7 separate regions of the Homo sapiens genome follow, and regions 2, 3, 4, 5, 6 and 7 are each linked to region 1. The links are contacts of gene promoters, found by promoter capture Hi-C in blood cells and fetal thymus (Javierre and others, 2016). All regions are on one chromosome and are shown on one strand. Each heading gives the region's core, a stretch centred on a gene start or on the middle of the fragment in contact. The rest is flanking DNA. Distances are from core to core; before and after follow the strand shown. Region 1 holds the start of LINC01948 (long intergenic non-protein coding RNA 1948). Region 2 has its middle 94 kb from the start of MAP3K1. Region 3 has its middle 98 kb from the start of C5orf67. Region 4 has its middle 23 kb from the start of ANKRD55. Region 5 has its middle 44 kb from the start of ANKRD55. Region 6 has its middle 79 kb from the start of C5orf67. Region 7 holds the start of LOC105378977 (a long non-coding RNA gene).

Evidence for each region. Contacts are between HindIII fragments. The CHiCAGO score rates a contact against its expected background, and 5 or more counts as called.
Region 2: a fragment that was not itself captured here is called in contact with the fragment with the promoter of LINC01948 in region 1 in 2 of 17 cell types (naive B cells and total B cells); the score reaches 7.0 in naive B cells.
Region 3: a contact is called between a fragment that was not itself captured here and the fragment with the promoter of LINC01948 in region 1, in 6 of 17 cell types (total B cells, naive B cells, non-activated CD4 T cells and 3 more). The highest score is 16.5, in total B cells.
Region 4: a contact is called between a fragment that was not itself captured here and the fragment with the promoter of LINC01948 in region 1, in 2 of 17 cell types (naive B cells and neutrophils). The highest score is 8.1, in naive B cells.
Region 5: a fragment that was not itself captured here is called in contact with the fragment with the promoter of LINC01948 in region 1 in 10 of 17 cell types (total B cells, naive B cells, M2 macrophages and 7 more); the score reaches 24.7 in total B cells.
Region 6: a contact is called between a fragment that was not itself captured here and the fragment with the promoter of LINC01948 in region 1, in 3 of 17 cell types (total B cells, naive B cells and non-activated CD4 T cells). The highest score is 10.9, in total B cells.
Region 7: a contact is called between a fragment that was not itself captured here and the fragment with the promoter of LINC01948 in region 1, in 2 of 17 cell types (total B cells and naive B cells). The highest score is 7.3, in total B cells.

The regions. Positions count from the first base shown.
Region 1 is chr5:56,480,515-56,483,022 of GRCh38, reverse strand. It overlaps LINC01948 (long intergenic non-protein coding RNA 1948), which reads left to right and starts at 1,254. Exons shown (of 5, transcript NR_104664.1): 1 at 1,254-1,470. RefSeq lists an enhancer at 1,326-1,485. The HindIII fragment of the contact is 6,332 bases long and covers 1-2,508 here.
Region 2 is chr5:56,720,590-56,723,097 of GRCh38, reverse strand. No RefSeq gene overlaps it. Among named protein-coding and RNA genes, the nearest start is that of MAP3K1, 94 kb to the left of the region's middle. The HindIII fragment of the contact is 4,821 bases long and covers 1-2,508 here.
Region 3 is chr5:56,703,337-56,705,844 of GRCh38, reverse strand. No RefSeq gene overlaps it. Among named protein-coding and RNA genes, the nearest start is that of C5orf67, 98 kb to the right of the region's middle. The HindIII fragment of the contact is 5,252 bases long and covers 1-2,508 here.
Region 4 is chr5:56,255,414-56,257,921 of GRCh38, reverse strand. No RefSeq gene overlaps it. Among named protein-coding and RNA genes, the nearest start is that of ANKRD55, 23 kb to the right of the region's middle. RefSeq lists an enhancer at 1-303. The HindIII fragment of the contact is 8,279 bases long and covers 1-2,508 here.
Region 5 is chr5:56,276,236-56,278,743 of GRCh38, reverse strand. It overlaps the pseudogene PSMC1P4. Among named protein-coding and RNA genes, the nearest start is that of ANKRD55, 44 kb to the right of the region's middle. The HindIII fragment of the contact is 218 bases long and covers 1,148-1,365 here.
Region 6 is chr5:56,684,044-56,686,551 of GRCh38, reverse strand. No RefSeq gene overlaps it. Among named protein-coding and RNA genes, the nearest start is that of C5orf67, 79 kb to the right of the region's middle. The HindIII fragment of the contact is 3,405 bases long and covers 1-2,508 here.
Region 7 is chr5:56,294,341-56,296,848 of GRCh38, reverse strand. LOC105378977 (a long non-coding RNA gene) reads right to left here and starts at 413. Exons shown (of 3, transcript XR_948342.3): 1 at 69-413. The HindIII fragment of the contact is 1,752 bases long and covers 380-2,131 here.

The DNA of each region.
Region 1 (2,508 bases), core at 5-2,504:
TGTTCATGTCTTTTGCCCACTTTTTAACAGGGTTGTTTGTGTTTGTGTTTTGCTTGCATAGCTGCTTTCCATGTTCTTTTCTATGTTATCTAGAACTATAATAAAAGTAACTGCCCAGCTCTTTGGGAGGCTGGGGCAGGCGAATCACTTGAGGTCAGGAGTTCAAGGGTAGCCTGGCCAATATGGTGAAACCCTGTCTCTATTAAAAATACAAAAATTAGCCGAGTGTGGTGGCACACACCTGGATTCCCAGCTACTCAGGAGGCTGAGGCAGGAGAATTACTTGAACCCCCAAGGCGGAGGTTGCAGTGAGCCCAGATCGCACCACTGTACTCCAGCCTGGGAGACAGAGTGAGACAGCGTCTCAAAAAAACAAAAAAAAAGGAACTAGGTCTAAGACAGGGTACCCAATCTATTTCTAAGAAGATGCTACTTCTCATTTTCTGGAAACACTGTAGCAAAGAGGAAGGGACAATAATGTCCCATAGTGGGTGGGCAGATATAAAAACCCCAAGATGTTCATTTCAGGCCCAAAGTGACTACTGCTTGCTACCCTCACCTTTCTCTGCTGGAACACTACCAGCCCCTGTGAGATGTGGGTGATCTCATGGGTGTTTGGAAGAATCCCAGTACCAGGCTAGGGGATCATCAAAGCTGACTGGATCAGTCCTGCTAGATCAGGAAGCCTTACTGAGTAAGGCTAATGCCAGGTCTCCAAACTGCCACTGAGCATCAGGGGTCCTTCCCACAATATCTTTGTTTCTCTAGGTCAAGAAATGATGCCGTCCCTAGAAACAGCGCAATGTTTATGTAAGAGTCAACTCAGAGACCTTGTGCCGGTACAAGAGGTACTATCTCATCCTGCTCCCCTGCAGGCACTAAATGAGACAAAATTCCTTCTGGAGTTCAAGTCCAGAAGGCTGACTATGCTGTTAATGGCAGTATACTGAGTTAAGAGAATTCGGGGAGACGGGAATATTGGGTCCACGATTCTGCCTGGAGGGAAGAATTGTGGTCTCCTCAGTCCTGTGGAGTAGGGGTCCGGGCTGATGATAGCGCCTCCTGGTGCAGAGTATACAAACAGCTGAAGATCTGCCTGGACCCCCTACCCCTCTCTTTTTTCCTTGTGGAAACTGTGTATAATTTGGAAAGAGCAAGGACATCCTGGCTCGCAGCTGGCCAGCTCCACCTGCGACCTGGACAGCCTCGCCCCTCCCTGCGGAGCCAGGCGAGTTCACAGGGCTGCCTCCGCTTCTTGCAGCATGTCTGCTCTCCTGGCCTGGCCTCTCCAGACCTTTCCCTCCACGGGCAGCGATTTCCAAGGCTCTCAAGACTCCAAACCACGTCGTTTTGGGAGTGAAAAAGTGAAAGCACACATCGTGTCATTAGAGCAGCAGGGACCAGCTGCTGGGTCAACACTTCCGAAAACAGCGCTTCCTGGGGAGCGACCGGAGCATCTCAGAATCTACGGTTTGACCTCCTGCCAATTCTCATGGTGTCTTTATACATTTTAACACAAAAATAAGATGTTTTCACTTGAGAGCGAGAGGGAAATGAACTGTTAAGGTGCTCTGTCGCCAGAGAAGTGAAGTTGGGGGGTAAATTTTAGGAACCCCCGACCCCCCTACCGAGGGAGGATGCGAAGTCGGCTCCTGAAACGCGAGCGAAACCCCCGCGCGCTTCCCGGGGTGACGCACATGTCTGTGTTTCTTTTTGCTTTTGACCAAAAGTCGTAGGGAGGGTCCTCCTCAGGGGACAGTCGCGGGCGCTGTGCCAGTCCTTCCTGTCCCCCCACCAAAGTCAACCCCAGCCCCAGGCCAAGGCCGCCCCGGCCGGAAGAGCCAGCTGGTGGGGGCCGTGGGGGGCGCGGCGGGCGCGCGGGGCTGGGGGCGGCGGGTCCGCCTACCCCGCCTTCCTGGCGTGGAGAGTTTCGGCCCCAGCCTCGCTGGCGTGGACTCTGCCTGAACCACGCCTGGGATGCTTTTGCCAAAGGAAACTTGGGGGGTGGGGGCGGGGCGGGCGACGATTCCCCCCCTCCCCACCCCGCCCCTGTCCTCCTCGGCCGGGAGCCGCGCTGGGCCGGGGTCAGCTGGCTGCCTTTGTGGCCGCTTCCCAGGAAGGAAGAAGCGTTGTCTGCAGATCAGTTGATCCGCGGGCTTTCCTGTGTCGGAATGCCGCCGTTTTCCGGGGACGGCTGCCACCCCCGTGATTCCCAGCCGGGGCTGCCGGCCGTGCGTAAGAGCCGGATAAATAGGCCATTGTGAGGCCGTTCAGATCTAGGTTTCTTATCACAGTATCCACCAGCGAGAAGCAGATTCGGCCCCTGATGGAGCTCATCCCAGCTTCTCTTTTCTTTCTCTGCACAGTTACAGCCATTTCTATTTTTTGCAGTTGTAAAGGGAATATTCAGAAAGCAATTTATTGTGTGCGACAGGGACTTAAGGGAGCGTGTCTGCAGACCGTGTTCCCACCGGGGTTGGGGTTCGCAACCTTGAGTTTAGCTCGATG
Region 2 (2,508 bases), core at 3-2,502, 240 kb before region 1:
TGAGGCCCGTTGTGCCTCAACAATTTTCATGAATTAACATGACTTTTTAGTATCTGTTGATTGAGAAATTACATAAGGTGAAAAAGAAGCTATTGTGAATTCAGTTACGTGGTCTCTGTTTAAATATAATTAAATATAACTATTGATTTTTAGTTATATAACTAATATACATCTACATTTTCATTGACTAAATTAGATGCAACCCATAAAGCTATAGCCTCTTCTCATTTCTTGACCTGAGTTCCAATTCTAAGCTCAACCTCTAGTACTACTACTATAGCATGTATCTATCCATACCTTTTCTCTGTTCTCATATACGTATATATGCACCTATAAAAATATTTGGTACTGCTTCTTATATGTATATATATGTGGGTATGTATCACACTATATGTATCATGCTGCAACTTCAAACTATGTCTTGGAAGTCATTATTACTTTTTAATCCCTGTATAATATAACATGGTTTATTTATCATTCTCCTACTGTATTTACTTCCATAAATGCAAAACCCAGAGTCATGAATGCCTGCTCCTTCAGTAAAAGAGAAATTTGAAAACCGCCCACTGGCCCAGGGAAGCTCTCAGGAAATGCAAGAATACCCTGGGTTTCGATGGAAAAAATACTTCCCATGATAAATGGAAACTTCACAAGTGTGCCATGCATGGGTGTGGAATCCAAATTTACCCTACGGGTATGTTGGGGAATCCCAAGCTGAGAAATTAATGTAGAAACTGACTATGGCCTGATGAAAACATGGGGGCTTCTTTTAGATGAAGTCTCAAAATCACTCTCTATGTCCTTTTTTACAATTCCCAACATACAAAATACACCCCACCCCATGCCACAGAACAAAATGATAGAACAAAAAGCAGAAAAGTTTATATCGCAAAACTTAGGCAATATGAAATGTAGAATGCTACAAAATAAATATGTTTAAAGTAAGAAAATAAGGGAAAATCATAATAATGGAACAGAATAATAAAAAAGAGAACAGGTTCAGGGGCAAAATATTACATAAAACTTTAGAGGCTGGGAGTGGTGGCTCACGCCTATAATCCCAGCACTTTGGGAGGCCGAGGCAGGCCGATCATGAGGTCAGGCGATTAAGACCATCCTGGCCAACATGGTGAAACCCCATCTCTACTAAAATGCAAACAATTAGCTGGGCGTAGTGGTGCACGCCTATAGTCCCAGCTACTGGGGAGGCTGAGGCAGGGGAATTGCTTGAACCTGGGAGGCAGGGGTCGCAGTGAGCCGAGATCGCACCACTGCACTCCAGCCTGGTGACAGAGCGAGACTCCATCTCAAAACAACAACAACAACAAAAAACACTTTAGAAAGAAAAACTATATCTATTGAAAATAATCGTGCCTTGTAAATAAACACTGATGAAAGGTAAAGGTTTGGTTATATAACTAATATACATCTACTTATTTCAAGATCTAATTATTAGTGATTAAATAGTGAAAGTGAAGCAATAGTGCATATTCCATGCCAGTATTCTATAAATGCATTGACTTGTCATGTTTTTCCATTCATCTAATTTTAAGAGCAAGTCCTCTTTATCCAAAATAACATAAGCCACATAAATAATTACCCAAGGCACAAAAAATATAAATGAAATCCAAGGTCTTCAGAAGTCTCTGGACTGAAGTCTTTTAGTCTTCTTTGACTTTTGACTTCTGTTTTAGGAAATAAATTTGCCTGTGGAAATTGAAGGACCATACCACGTAAGTATAAAATAGTTCTGAAGGCAAAAGGAAAGTGCCTGTAAAAGTCAAACTTTAAACCTCAGGAACATCTTGCGTCCCATTAGAGCAATGAAGAAAATCTTGTTTTGCTTCTGGGATTTGGCATTGCAATAGCCTGGGGAACTGGACACTGCTTCCCTTCAGAAATAAAGTTGTCCAATATGTTTAGACTGCAAAGAACTTCTAATTGATGGTGGTGCTAATGAAGCAGTTGCATATATTCTATGCTGAGGGGACAATTGAGCACAAGAATAGGTCCAAATAATTTTTCCTTTATAAGTAGGTGAGGTGCCTTTTTTTTTTTTTTTGCTGCCTTGCTGCTGTTAGGAACTGCATCCTCCTCCCAAGTCACTGCTGAGAGTCTGGATCTTTTGTGTACAATTGTCAAGGGTTTTCTTACGCTTTCAAAATAAGACTATCCCAAGAATACTCATATTTTTGTTTCTACAACATTTGGGATGCCAATTTCTAAACTGAGCGATAAAATGTAATCTGCTAAATATGAAGGAATCTTTATTAAGATATCAATTATTGTCTGAACTTCTAATCCATCTCTTCTGCTTAGGAATTTTTTTAATGAATATTATTTGTCAATGAGAATATCAAGTGTTAAATGATTTATTAAAATAAGACAATACAGCTCTAAGTTAATTACCATAGAAAAGGTAACTTTTCTAGAGATCACAGTGTATACAACTTAGATTTATTGGAAGGCTTTAGAGTATATAAACTTTTTATATGAACCATTTGAAAA
Region 3 (2,508 bases), core at 6-2,505, 220 kb before region 1:
TAATGGCACAGGAATAAAAAGCAGATAGATGAAATATGTAAGGTAAAAAGCAGAAAAAAATTCATGTGTTTAATTTTAAGTGGAGAATTTGTGCAGGGGAGAGGTTGCCTCACGAGAGGATGATTGGTATGGAAACCATGTTTGTAACAGTCATGGCAGAAGGAATTGGAGAGTCTTTGGCTGTCTTCACATATTTGGGCATAGAGGAAGGAAATGACGGCTGTTTGTTTTTACAGCGGGAAAACCTGGATGAGTTAACAGTACGGGGTAGTGGATAAGAGTGTGGGCCCTAGAGTGAGAAATCATCACGGGCAAGTCCTGGATCTTCTTAGTGCCTTGGCCCGATTATCTTTGTTAGGTTCCTCCAGAAGTAGACCTAGAGATCAGGTTTCAAAATGCAAATACTAGAAGGTATTCCAGGAAACACTGGTAAGAGAGTGGGAAAGTGAGCAGGGGGAGGTAAGGCAGCCAATAACAGGTGAATTATCAAGCGTGTTACAATTGCAGACAAACCAGAGCTTAACCCCTCTAGGGAACTCTGGGAGCCAGTGTAGACCACATAACTCAGAGCCAACCCACTTGAGAAGCAATCCTCTCAGTCATTGATTGAGGAATGCTTCTAGGAGGTGTTAATTCTCTGGTACTTCTGACCAAACATACTGCAGGAAAGTGGGCTTTTGTACTGGAGAATGATCTCTGGCCAAGAGCTGCAGGTGCTGGCATTGGGGAGTTCTGCTTGCCTGCACTAAAATGGGGAGGCTTGAGGGGAGGTGGATAGGGCACAGGCAGCATCTGCTACACTCTACCTAGAAAATGGGTGTATAATTAATGAATGTATTTACCACATATGGTGCTTATGAAAATCAAACTGTACATGCAAAGCTCTTAGGACACTACTTGGCATAAAATAAGCACTTGATAATGTTACTATTATTATCATTAAAATCAGATTAATTATGTTTGGCAAAAATGCCCATCAACAAGCTGTCTGGTGATATCATTTGCTCATGTCAAAGGAGGGAGAACAGTGGAAGCTCCCCATTGAAGCAATCTGTAAAAGCATTCCTATGCTGCATGGGCAGCTGGGCTGGGGCCTGTGACGTGCCCTCCTACCCTGCATTTCCATGCTTATTCAAATCAACATGCCTGTGGCAGACATATTTTGTGCCCCGGGCTACATGCATTCTGCTCACCTGATTTCAGCTGCAGCTATGGTGAACAGATCCAGTTTTGCCACCAGGAGCCTACCTCAAGCACCTGCTGCAACATCTCTCAGCTTCTTTCCTTGAGATTTTTTTTTCAAAGCAGGGCAGATTGGATGTTCATAGGAGTTAGTGCCCCTGGGGGGCATTATAGATAATGAAAACATAGTCCTTATCCTCTGAGAGCTGGTGGGGCTGAGTAGAGATGGTAAAGTAAAATTATTAAAATATACCTGCTAAATTAGAAATATATTGGAGGTATGCTGAGTGGAGCTGGGGAAACCTTGAGAGAAGGAGACATATGAGCTAAATCCTGGAGGTTGAGTAGAAGTCAAACCAGCAGAGAAAAGGAAAAGGGTTTTCACTCTGAGAGGCCAACAGGCAAGAGGGTAGGGCACCAAAGGGAGAGCAGATGAGCAATCTACTGAGGCTGGGCCAGGACGGCATGGGGCACAGAGCTCCTGAGATGAGGGAGAAAGGTGAGCGGGGTGGAACAGGAAGGACTTGGTGTGTTATGCTAGTGTGTGTGGACTTTCCCCTGCAGGCAGTGGGAGCCTCTGAGACTTTTAAATCACAAGAGGGACATGACCAGATCTGTCCTTTACCAAGTTTTCTCTGGGGCAGTGGGAAGGGTAGACTGTGGTGGGAAGAAAGCACAGGTGGGCAGATGAATTAGGAGGCCATTCCAGCAAGGGAGAACAATAATGACAGCCTAAACTAGGACAACTGAGCAAGTGGGGACTGTAGTGATTTACACAATCAAGTTTTTTAAAGGACATGAATTAGAAGATGGAAAAAGAGATGGGAGGGAAGTGGCAGCTTTTCTCTTGTTAGAGGCCGAAGCAAAGCATTTGGAGAGAACTGCCCCATCAGTTTTTTTCTCAAATGGCTTACAGATGAAGTCTTTTTTTTCCCCTCTCTTGAAATAGGCCCCAGAAGGACAATGCCACACTCCTTTTTTTAAATCCACTACTAACTCATATCCAGATTCATTTCTAGAAGGCTTGATTCAAATGAACCAATATCAGCATCTCCTTCACAGGTCTTGGACAGAATATTAGATTCCTTGGCTGTTTTTTGTTTCTTGATGTATGGAGCTCTTTCCTAAATGGTACATTAAAAGATGCCTTTAAAACATGCATTGGAATGCGGAGGAAATAATGTGGACTCATGCCAGCCATTTGCAAGCATGATAAATGATTTGAAGAAAGATGCTTGCCAGGTTCATCTTCCTACTCAGAGGTTGGGGAAAATATCAGGTGCAATATAAATATAGCCCTTTAGGGGAAAGTCGGAAAGAAGAGTA
Region 4 (2,508 bases), core at 6-2,505, 230 kb after region 1:
TAAACAGATGCTTGAAGGCAGCATGCTCGTTAAGAGTCATCACCACTCCCTAATCTCAAGTACCCAGGGACACAAACACTGCGGAAGGCGGCAGGGCCCTCTGCCTAGGAAAACCAGAGACCTTTGTTCACATGTTTATCTGCTGACCTTCCCTCCACTATTGTCCTATGACCCTGCCAAATCCCCCTCTCCGAGAAACACCCAAGAATGATCAATAAATACTAAAAAAATTTAAAAAAAAATTATAAACGTTGCACAAAATACATAAAGCAATTGCCTGAAGGCACTGGAGACACCAAGCACAAGCGAGATTTAAAGAAAACCCTATGGCATGAGGTCCACATACATTCCAGATATTCTCTTGAGGACATGTACACACTGCAGAATAGGGATATACAAATACAACAGTCTTAGTGGGCTGAGAAAGTAGAAGTAAGAATTTGGAGCTGCCAAAGCAGGCAGGACTTAGGAAAGTCCTGAAGAAGGGAAACAACAAAGGTGCCTACAATTCTGCAAACTTATTTCCCTAAAGTTTATGGGTTCCTAAGCTGGCACACAAAATATGAAACAAGAAATAAAGAAATAGAAGGAGAGAAAGACACAAAGAAAGAGAGGGGGGAGGAAGGGAGGGAGGAGGGAGAGAGGAAAAGAAGGAAGGAAAGAAGGGAGGGAGAGAGGGAGGGGAGGAGAGAGAGAAAAGAAAGAAAGGAGAGAAAGAGAAAAGAAAGGAAAGAAAGAAGAAAGAAAGAGAAAGAAAGAAAGAAAGATAAAGAAAGAAAGAGAAAGAAAGAAAGAGAGAAGGAAGGGAAGGAGGGAGACAGGAAGGAAGGAATGAAGGAAGGGAGGCAGGGAGGGAGGGAAGGAGGATAGCTGAAGATCTGATCAGAGATTTCAGTACTAGGGAGGCAAAGGTCATAATTAAAACCTTTCCAAAATAGAAAAACCTTGGCGAATGTTCCAGGCTTTGAACCGTCCAGGCTTTGAACCAAATTATGGAAATCCAAGTAGAAATTTATTTAAAGTAAATAGATTTATAGGTGAATCAGATGTTAACAATAACTGACAGGGAGTTTAAAATAACTGTGATTAATATGGTCAAGAGAATGGAGAAAATGATAGACAAAATGGAAGAAAGGTTGGAGAATTTCATTGGGGAAATGAATCTATTTTTAAAAAGAGACAAACAATTGGTAAAATTTTTAAAGCACCAAAAACATCAATTATGTAGAATAAATCTGATAGAAGTTGTATAAGATCTCTACGATGAAAACTACAGATAGTTGCTGAGAGAAGTAAAAGAAGATCTAAGTAAATGACAGGTAATATCATGAACATGGAATTCAAAGATGCAACAGTCTTAAGATATCAAGTCATTCCAAATGGATATATAAATTCAATGCAATCCCAATAAAAATGCTATCAATTTTTTTGGTAGAAATTGATAAGCTATTTGTAAAATTGATATGGAAATAAAAAGAACTCTGAATAGCTAAGGCAATACTGAAGAAAAAAGACAAAACCTGATATCAAAGCTAGAGAAATTAAAACAGTATGGTACTGGAACAAGAAAAGACAACAGATCATGGAATAAATTAGACTTCAGAAACAGACCCACATCCATAGGATTTATGATAAATCTGATTTATGATAAAGGCATCACAGAAACTCAGTGGAGAAAGAATTATCTTTTCAATAAATGGTGGTGGTTCAAGTGTATATTCATATGGGAAAAAAAGACTCTTGTCCCTTACCTCACATTATACACAAAAATTAATTCAAGGTAGATCATATATCTAAAGACGAAAAGTAAAACAATAAAAATTCTAGAAGAAAACACAGTAAATATGTTCAGGGACCTCAGGTTAGGCCATAGTTTCTTAGACAGAACACATGGAAATACTGATAAATTGGATTTAATTAAAATAAAGAAATTCTGTTCAATGAATGACATGGTTAAGAGAATGGAAAAAGCAAACCTCAGACTGGTATAAAATATTTGTTATTCAGACATTTGCATGCACACACACATATGGCAAAGAATTTATATCTAGACTATATTCTTGTATAAAAGTTCTATAAATTGATAAGAAAAAGATATACAACACAATTTTTAATGTTGAGCCAGAATCCTGAACAAGCACTCCACAAAAGAGGATATGAAAATGATCAATATGCAAATGAGAAAGGTGTTCAGCATCATTATTCATGAGAAACAAAACACATCTTGATACCATGTGCTGCTTTGTAGTCTAGAAATGCCAATATCTCCCCTTGAAAAAGCAATTACAAAGCCACAGCTCTGAATACCAGAAAGTGAATTAGAATAAGTGTCAATTATTATAAACAGCCTTGTTTAATTTGGGGAATGGGGTTTCTGCTAAGGTTTTTCATCTTGCAGTGAACGGATTTTGATTCTCTATTGCAGTTATTTAAGTCACTCTTGCCAGCCTAGTGCAAAAAGTGAAAAGTCATAACAGAAACCTTACTCTTGGAATTAAACAGGGCTGC
Region 5 (2,508 bases), core at 7-2,506, 200 kb after region 1:
CCTGGATGCTTTTCATTCCCAGCCCCAGAGTCTAACCCCGAGACCTCCAGGGCCACTCACCACAGCATTCCTGAAGACTTAGAAGAGGTGCTTTTGTGTGCAGCCCTTTCCTCCAAGACCCTGGAATGCACGTTCGCAGGACTTGCTGATTTATAGCCATGTTGCCTTTCAAAGAATTCCCTGGCCTGCGTTAAGTCAACAGATTTGAGAAAAGGCTGGTTAAAAGTTCTGTCACGGGAGCCAGTTGTTCCTTGTGTTCGCAGGATGCTTTCTTTAACCCTGGGTCCTGCTCAGGCCAGTAACAGCACACCCTGGGCCTACAACTGCTCAGGATCTGTGTGTAAGACATGGAAACTCTGTCATATAAATGTATTTAGTGCTCCTCCCTCGAATAGCCCTAAGCCCTGTCATATAAATGTATTTACTGCCCTTCCCTCGAATAGCCCTAAGCCTCTATTCTCTCATTTATCATTCTTTGTTTTTTACTGCCTTAATGGTTTTTGTGATCATATTAGCCTATTTTCTATTTTTATCCTCTTGTCATTCTGCCCATCAACTGAGAGCAGTGGCCATATCCTGTTTGTACATGCCGACCTTTCTGAAAACAATTCATTCATTCATTCATTCATTCATCCACCCACCCATCCATTCAACAATCCTGGCCCTGTCCTGGGAACTGAGGATGCAGCAATAGAGAAATAAAGATGGCTGCTGCCTGCCAGGTGCACTGCCCAGATCCTTGTTCAGGGTCACTCTGCTCATTCCCCAGCTGCCAGGATTGTTACTGGCTGATGACCCACATTGAGTCCTCCCTATGAATTGCCCTTGGCCAAAGGGAGCTGTGTCCCCTTCCTGGGGACACTCTGCATCCAATGACTGGCTGATTTGGGGCCCGCCCCCTTTGTCTCAATTCAGGACATCCCTGAAGCACTTCCCCAGCTTCAGGGCTCCCCTGGGAATCAGTGGAGACCTCTGTTGCAACTGAATCACAGTTCAAGTCTTCTCTGTGCCCAATCTTGCTTCCTTCACACCCTGTGGCTGCTGTGCCTGAGAGCACCCACCGCCATAACCCTCCTTGCACACAAATCTCCAGCTCAGAGTTTTGTTCCCAGGGAAGTCATCCTATGACACCTGCTATCATGAAGCTTATATACTAGGAGTGATAGAAAATAAACACAAATAGTAACACAGTTATGTGAAAAATTACATTGCTGTGGGAAGAAATAGAGTGGGGTCAGGGGATCAGGAATACAGATTGGGAAGATGATTAATTTTTCATATTCAATAGAATGATTGGACTGGCATCTCTGAGAATGTGACACTTGAGCAAAGACTTGAAATTAGCAAACTGAATGTCCAAAAGCTTCTGAATCCAAAATTGAGCCTGGATCAGTCAGGATTTCCCAGAGAAACAGCACCAATAGGATGTGAATGTGTGTATGTGTGTGTGTGTGTACATATATGTGAATATGTACATGCATACACACTCAGATCTGTTTCAAGGAATTGGCTCATGGGATTGTGGAGCCTGGCAAGTCTGAAGCCTGCAGGGAAGGCCAGCAGCTGGAATAGGTGGGAGTTGATGCTTTAGTCTTAGGGCAGAATTTCTTCTTCTCTGGGAAACCTCAATTTTTGCTCTTAAGGCCTTCAAGGGATGAGGTGAGGCCCAACCACATTATGAAAGATAATCTGCTTTACTTATAGTCTACTATTTGTGAATGTTCATCACATCCCCAAATACCTTCACAGCAGCACCTAGGTTAGTATTTGATTAAGCATTGGGTACTATAGCCTAGCCAAGCTGACACAGGAACCTGACCATCACACCTACTCTGTCCCACAGGTACATATCCCAACACCTTTCCCTGCTTTACTTCTCTCCTTAACACCCATCAAGAGCTGACATTCTGTATATTTTACCCTCCCCAGTGTCTTACACCAAGCCCACTTCATTCATTTATGTAGTACCTGTTTATTCTCTTGAAAACATATAAGTTGGTAGCCTTCCAGTGTGAGTATCCCCAAGAGAAAATACGCATCAAAAATTAGGAACTTAGAAATGATAGTTGAGGTGGAGGAACTTCCAGCAGTGGCAGCTCAAGTGGCCAAGACAAGGTGGGTCAAAGTCAGGGTGATGGTCATGGTCCTAGACGTGGCAAGAAGGATGAAAAGGACAAGAAAAATAAGTACTAACCTCTTGTACCAACTAGAGTGGCGGAAAAAGAAGAAAAAACAAAGGGACAAGATGTTGCCAGTAAACTGCCACTGGTGACACTTCACACTCAGTGTCGGTTAAAATTACTGAAGTTAGAGAGAATTAAAGACTACCTTCTCATGGTGGAAGAATTCATTAGAAATCAGGAACAAATAAAACTATTAGAAGAAAAGCAAGAGGAGGGAAGATCAAAAGTGGATGATCTGAGGGGGACCCCAATGTCAGTAGGAAACTTGGAAGAGATCATCGATGACAATCATGCCATTGTGTCTACATCTGTGGGCTCAGAACAC
Region 6 (2,508 bases), core at 6-2,505, 200 kb before region 1:
CATAGCTAGATAGTAAAGCCCTGATCACAAGGGTTTTAAAATCAAACAGGGGGTCTTTGCACACACGGAGCTCTGTGGCTTTGTGTCTGCATATGCATATGGCTACGTGTGAAGGCAGGAGTAAATGTTCCTTCAACTTGCTGAGCCTCCTCTGTAAATTGAGGGGTTTGGAACAGTGACCTGTAACTACAGAATATGGGCTAACAGTTGTTGGGCGCTTACTGTATGCCAGACACTAAATTCTTAACATGGATTATTTTATTTACTCCTCACCATGTTCCTAGATGTCCATACTATTATGATCACTGCCTCTGTTTAGAGATTAGGAACTGAGGTTTAGGGAGGTTAAGTAACTTTCTCAAGGTCACACAGCTAGTGAAGGCTGGAGCTGGGATTTTGATCCCAGACCCCATGATGATAATCACTCTGCTTACATGACCTCCCAAAATAACTTTGTCTCCACTTTGTTAAGATGAGTTCTCCAAGGCCAGCCCTCCACTGAGCCTATTTCCTCCTAGCCAAGTTGCGTTTTGTCATCTGTGCTGAGACATGAGTGGTTACACTGGGTCATGACTGTTAGGCCAACAGGTTAAGCTAATTCCAAATGTGGATAACTGAGTAAGAAGGACTTTAAGTTAGCTTTTCTTGATAACAGGAATGTAAGACTGTGAGCTGGAAGGAACACTACAGAATGAATCATTTTCATTAACAGCAACTTGCTGGTGCACCCATGTTCATAGCAGAGCTATTCACAATAGTCAAGAAGTAGAAGCCACACAAAGTGTATACGGATGGATGAATGAATAGACAAAATGTGGTATTTGCATGAGTAGAATACTATTCAGCCTTAAAAAGGAAGTTACTACATGGATGAACTTCAAGGACATTATGCTAAGTGAAACAAGCCAGTCACAGAAGGACAAATACTGTATGACTTCACTTCTATGAGATATCTAGAGTATGTGAAGTCATAAAAATAGAAGGTAGAAGGTGGCTGCCAAGGGCTGGGGAAGGGAGAAACAAGGAGTTGTTTAATGGATAGAAAATTTTAGTTTTGCAAGATGAAAAGGTTCTGGAGACTCATTGTACAACAGTGCAAATATACTTAACACTATTGAACTGAACAGTGAAAATGGCTAACATGATTAATTCTATGTATATTTCACCACAATTAAAACACAAACAAATAAAAGAATAAGTAACATTCTTGATCTGTGCACTGAAAATTGGTCTTAAGCCAAAATAACCTTACTGTCACATACCTTTAAAGAGATGCTTACAGTCTTTCTTTATGGGGGGAATTGTGAACATGAATTTAATGATTTGTCTTGAATGTTAATTTATTACTCTGAGTTTATTGTGCATCTATAGTGGTTAGAGGGCACAATAATTGTACCTACAGCATAGGGAATGTACAATGCATTTGGATCACTTAGCATAGTGAAAAATAAAATATTTGGAGAAATGACAAATTTTAAAAAGCAATTTTCCAGTTTTAAAATAGAAATACATAGTTTCTCCAAATTAATGCACTGGCAGATTGCTTTTTCACCTTACAGAATCTCTAAACACATCCACACGATTATATGAGGACCAGAACTGTCTTTCTGGATAACTGAGTACAGAACTATGCCAAGCCTTCCGTATAGACTAGTGAGCAGAACAAGTCTTCCTGGATGAACAGCCACTTCTGGGAAAACTAGGTGGAAATGCAGATTCAGCAACTCACAGCCCGGAACCTTTAGGTAAATTTTAACACAAGAGAATTGTCTCATGTACTGGCAGTAGCTCCTTCTGGAATGTATGCCCTGATGGACTTCATTCAGGGCAGGTTGCTGAAAATTTGTGTAGGATGTAAAAATCTGAATAACAGATTAGGAAGGAGCCCCAAGAAACAGTGTGGTTCATCAAGCTGCAAAGGCAGGATGTCTAAGTTTGGTTCCCCAAAAGCAAGCCCGACAGTAGATCTCACGTGCAGGTAGTTTATTTAGGAGTTGAACCCAAGAAGCAGGAATGAGGGGATGGAGAGAATGTGGCAGAAAGGAAAATATTAGGGTATGTTATCAAGGCTGATGCTGTGGACAACGGGAGCATGGTTACCCTGGCGTTCTAAGAAGTGCATGGAAAGTCTCCAGATTGTCCTTTGTTATGCTGGAGCCTGGGGCACTTCTTCACAGTTCTCACGCCTCATTGCTTGAGGATTTCCAAGCTGACTTGAAAGTGGCCTGCCTGGGCTCCCACACCTTCACAGGAGGTCCTGAGGCAGAAAGCAAGAAAATGACCTGAGATTTCTAGAACTCAATGCCAAAACCAGGGCTGAAATCAGAGGTGGGCTGAGGAGATGTGATGTGAGCACAAAGAGTTGACTGGGAAGTCACTTAATATGAGTCCTTGTAAGCCACTCATATTAAGTCCTTGTGGCATACATGGAGAAAGGCAGTGTGGTGTAGTGGTTAAGCCTGTGGGCCTGTATCAGACAGCCTAGGTTTGAATCCTGATTTCATCAAC
Region 7 (2,508 bases), core at 6-2,505, 190 kb after region 1:
AGTGCAGATATATCCTTGGGTCCCATGGCCAGTGCCCAGTTTTCCTTTTGTGGGGAGAAAAGCCTTACCTGCTTTGCAGAGTTGCTTGTCAGAGCCTAGTGTGTCCGAAATTGGTGGGTTCTTGGTCTCACTGACTTCAAGAATGAAGCCACGGACCCTCGCGGTGAGTGTTACAGCTCTTAAAGTGGCACGTCTGGAGTTTGTTCCTTCTGATGTTTGGATGTGTTCGGAGTTTTTTCCTTCTAGGGGGTTCGTGGTCTCACTGGCTCAGGAGTGAAGCTGCAGACCTTCGAGGTGAGTGTTACAGCTCATAAAAGCAGTGTGGACCCAAAGAGTGAGCAGTAGCAAGATTTATTGCAAAGGACGAAAGAACAAAGCTTCCACGGTGTCGAAGGTGACCCGAGCGGGTTGCCACTGCTGGCTTGGGTGGCCTGCTTTTATTCTCTTATCTGGCCCCACCCACATCCTGCTGATTGGTAGAGCCAAGTGGTCTGTTTTGACAGGGCGCTGATTGGTGCGTTTACAATCCCTGAGCTAGACACAAAGGTTCTCCACCGTCCCCACCAGATTAGCTAGATAGAGTGTCAACACAAAGGTTCTCCAAGGCCCCACCAGAGTAGCTACATACAGAGTGTCGATTGGTGCATTCACAAACCCTGAGCTAGACACAGGGTGCTGATTGGTGTATTTACAAACCTTGAGCTAGATACAGAGTGCCGATTCGTGTATTTACAATCCCTGAGCTAGACATAAAGGTTCTCCAAGGCCCCATCAGAGTAGCTAGAAACAGAGTGTGGATTGGTGCATTCACAAACCCTGAGCTAGACACAGGGTGCTGATTGGTGTGTTTACAAACCTTGAGCTAGATACAGAGTGCAGAGTGGTGTATTTACAATCCCTGAGCTAGACATAAAGGTTCTCCAAGGTCCCACCAGAGTAGCTAGATACAGGGTGTCCATTGGTGCATTCACAAACCCTGAGCTAGACACAGGGTGCTGATTGGTGTATTTACAATCCCTGAAGCTAGACATAAAGGTTCTCCATGTCCCCACCAGACTCAGGAGCCCAGCTGGCTTCACCCAGTGGATCCCTCACAGGGGCTGCAGGTGGAGCTGCCTGCCAGTCCCGTGCCGTGCACCTGCACTCCTCAGCCCTTGGGTGGTCGATGGGAGTGGGTGCCATGGAGCAGGGAGCCGTGCTAGTCGGGGAGGCTCGGGCTGCACAGGAGCCCATGGAGGGAGTGGGAGGCTCAGGCATGGAGGGCTGCAGGTCCTGAGCCCTGCCTCGTGGGAAGGCAGCTAAGGCCCGGTGAAAAATTGAGCACAGCGCCGGTGGGCTGGCACTGCTGGGGGACCCAGTACACCCTCCGCAGCAGCTGGCCCGGGTGCTAAGCCCCTCATTGCCCGGGGCCGGCTGCTCCGAGTGCCACGCCCAACCGGAACTCCAGCTGGCCCGCAAGTGCGGCACGCAGCCCCGGTTCCCGCTCGCACCTCTCCCTCCACACCTCCCTGCAAGCTGAGGGAGCCGGCTCCGGCCTTGGCCAGCCCAGAAAGGGGCTCCCACAGTGCAGCAGTGAGCTGAAGGGCTCCTCAAGTGCCGCCAAAGTGGGAGCCCAGGCAGAGGAGGCGCCGAGAGTGAGCGAGGGCTGTGAGGACTGCCAGCACAGTGTCACCTCTCACTAGTATAAGATGATACTTGAGATAAAGTAGATGGGAAGGTGGGATCTCCTAGTGACTCAAACCCATTCACAGTGCATGCTACCAGAGAGCATTGTTTTTCTATCCTCATCCTTTCTTTCCATATCCTTCCAGTAAATGGCCTGTTGCGTGAGGTACAGCTCAATGGGGCAGGACCACTGGACTTGCAGCAGGAACCGAGCTTGAGGCACCACCATCAGCACTCCTCCAACCCAAATGGTCTCCTCGGCATGGGGAGAGAGGGCCCAACTGCATCCACATCCATGGCAAAATGAGGGAAGGGCCTCCTAGCCTGGACACAAAGACCCTCATGGAGATGGCAGACCTTACCAGGATCACCCCTGTTGTCAATGTTCAACACTATTCTAGGGAGTCGTAATTCAGTATCTGCTAAGTAGCTCCATGACATCTGGTTGGAAAATACAAAATAAGCTTATCTATGATTCATCCACACAGACCACACGCAGCTACCTGGGACCAACACAAGTCAGTTCTCTTGGCTAGGTAAGGTGTCTGTTAGGGACTAGGAGCACACACAGAAATGACAGCACTGCTGGCTAGAAGTTGACTTGGGACCCATTATGGGAAGCTCTAAATGTCCAGGTAGGAGTGGCTAGGCTATGTTTCAAGGAGAGATGTAACATCTGGAGCCCAACTCCTTTCTCTTCCACAAATGTGGGTTGGAATACATTTTCTGCTGTGCTCTGAATTGAAACAAGGAAGAATTGCAAGAGTAAAACCAAGAATAAACGCTTCAGAAGCATCTTTTAAGACCATGCAGCAGCCCCTGAAAATAAAATTTGGGGTTATT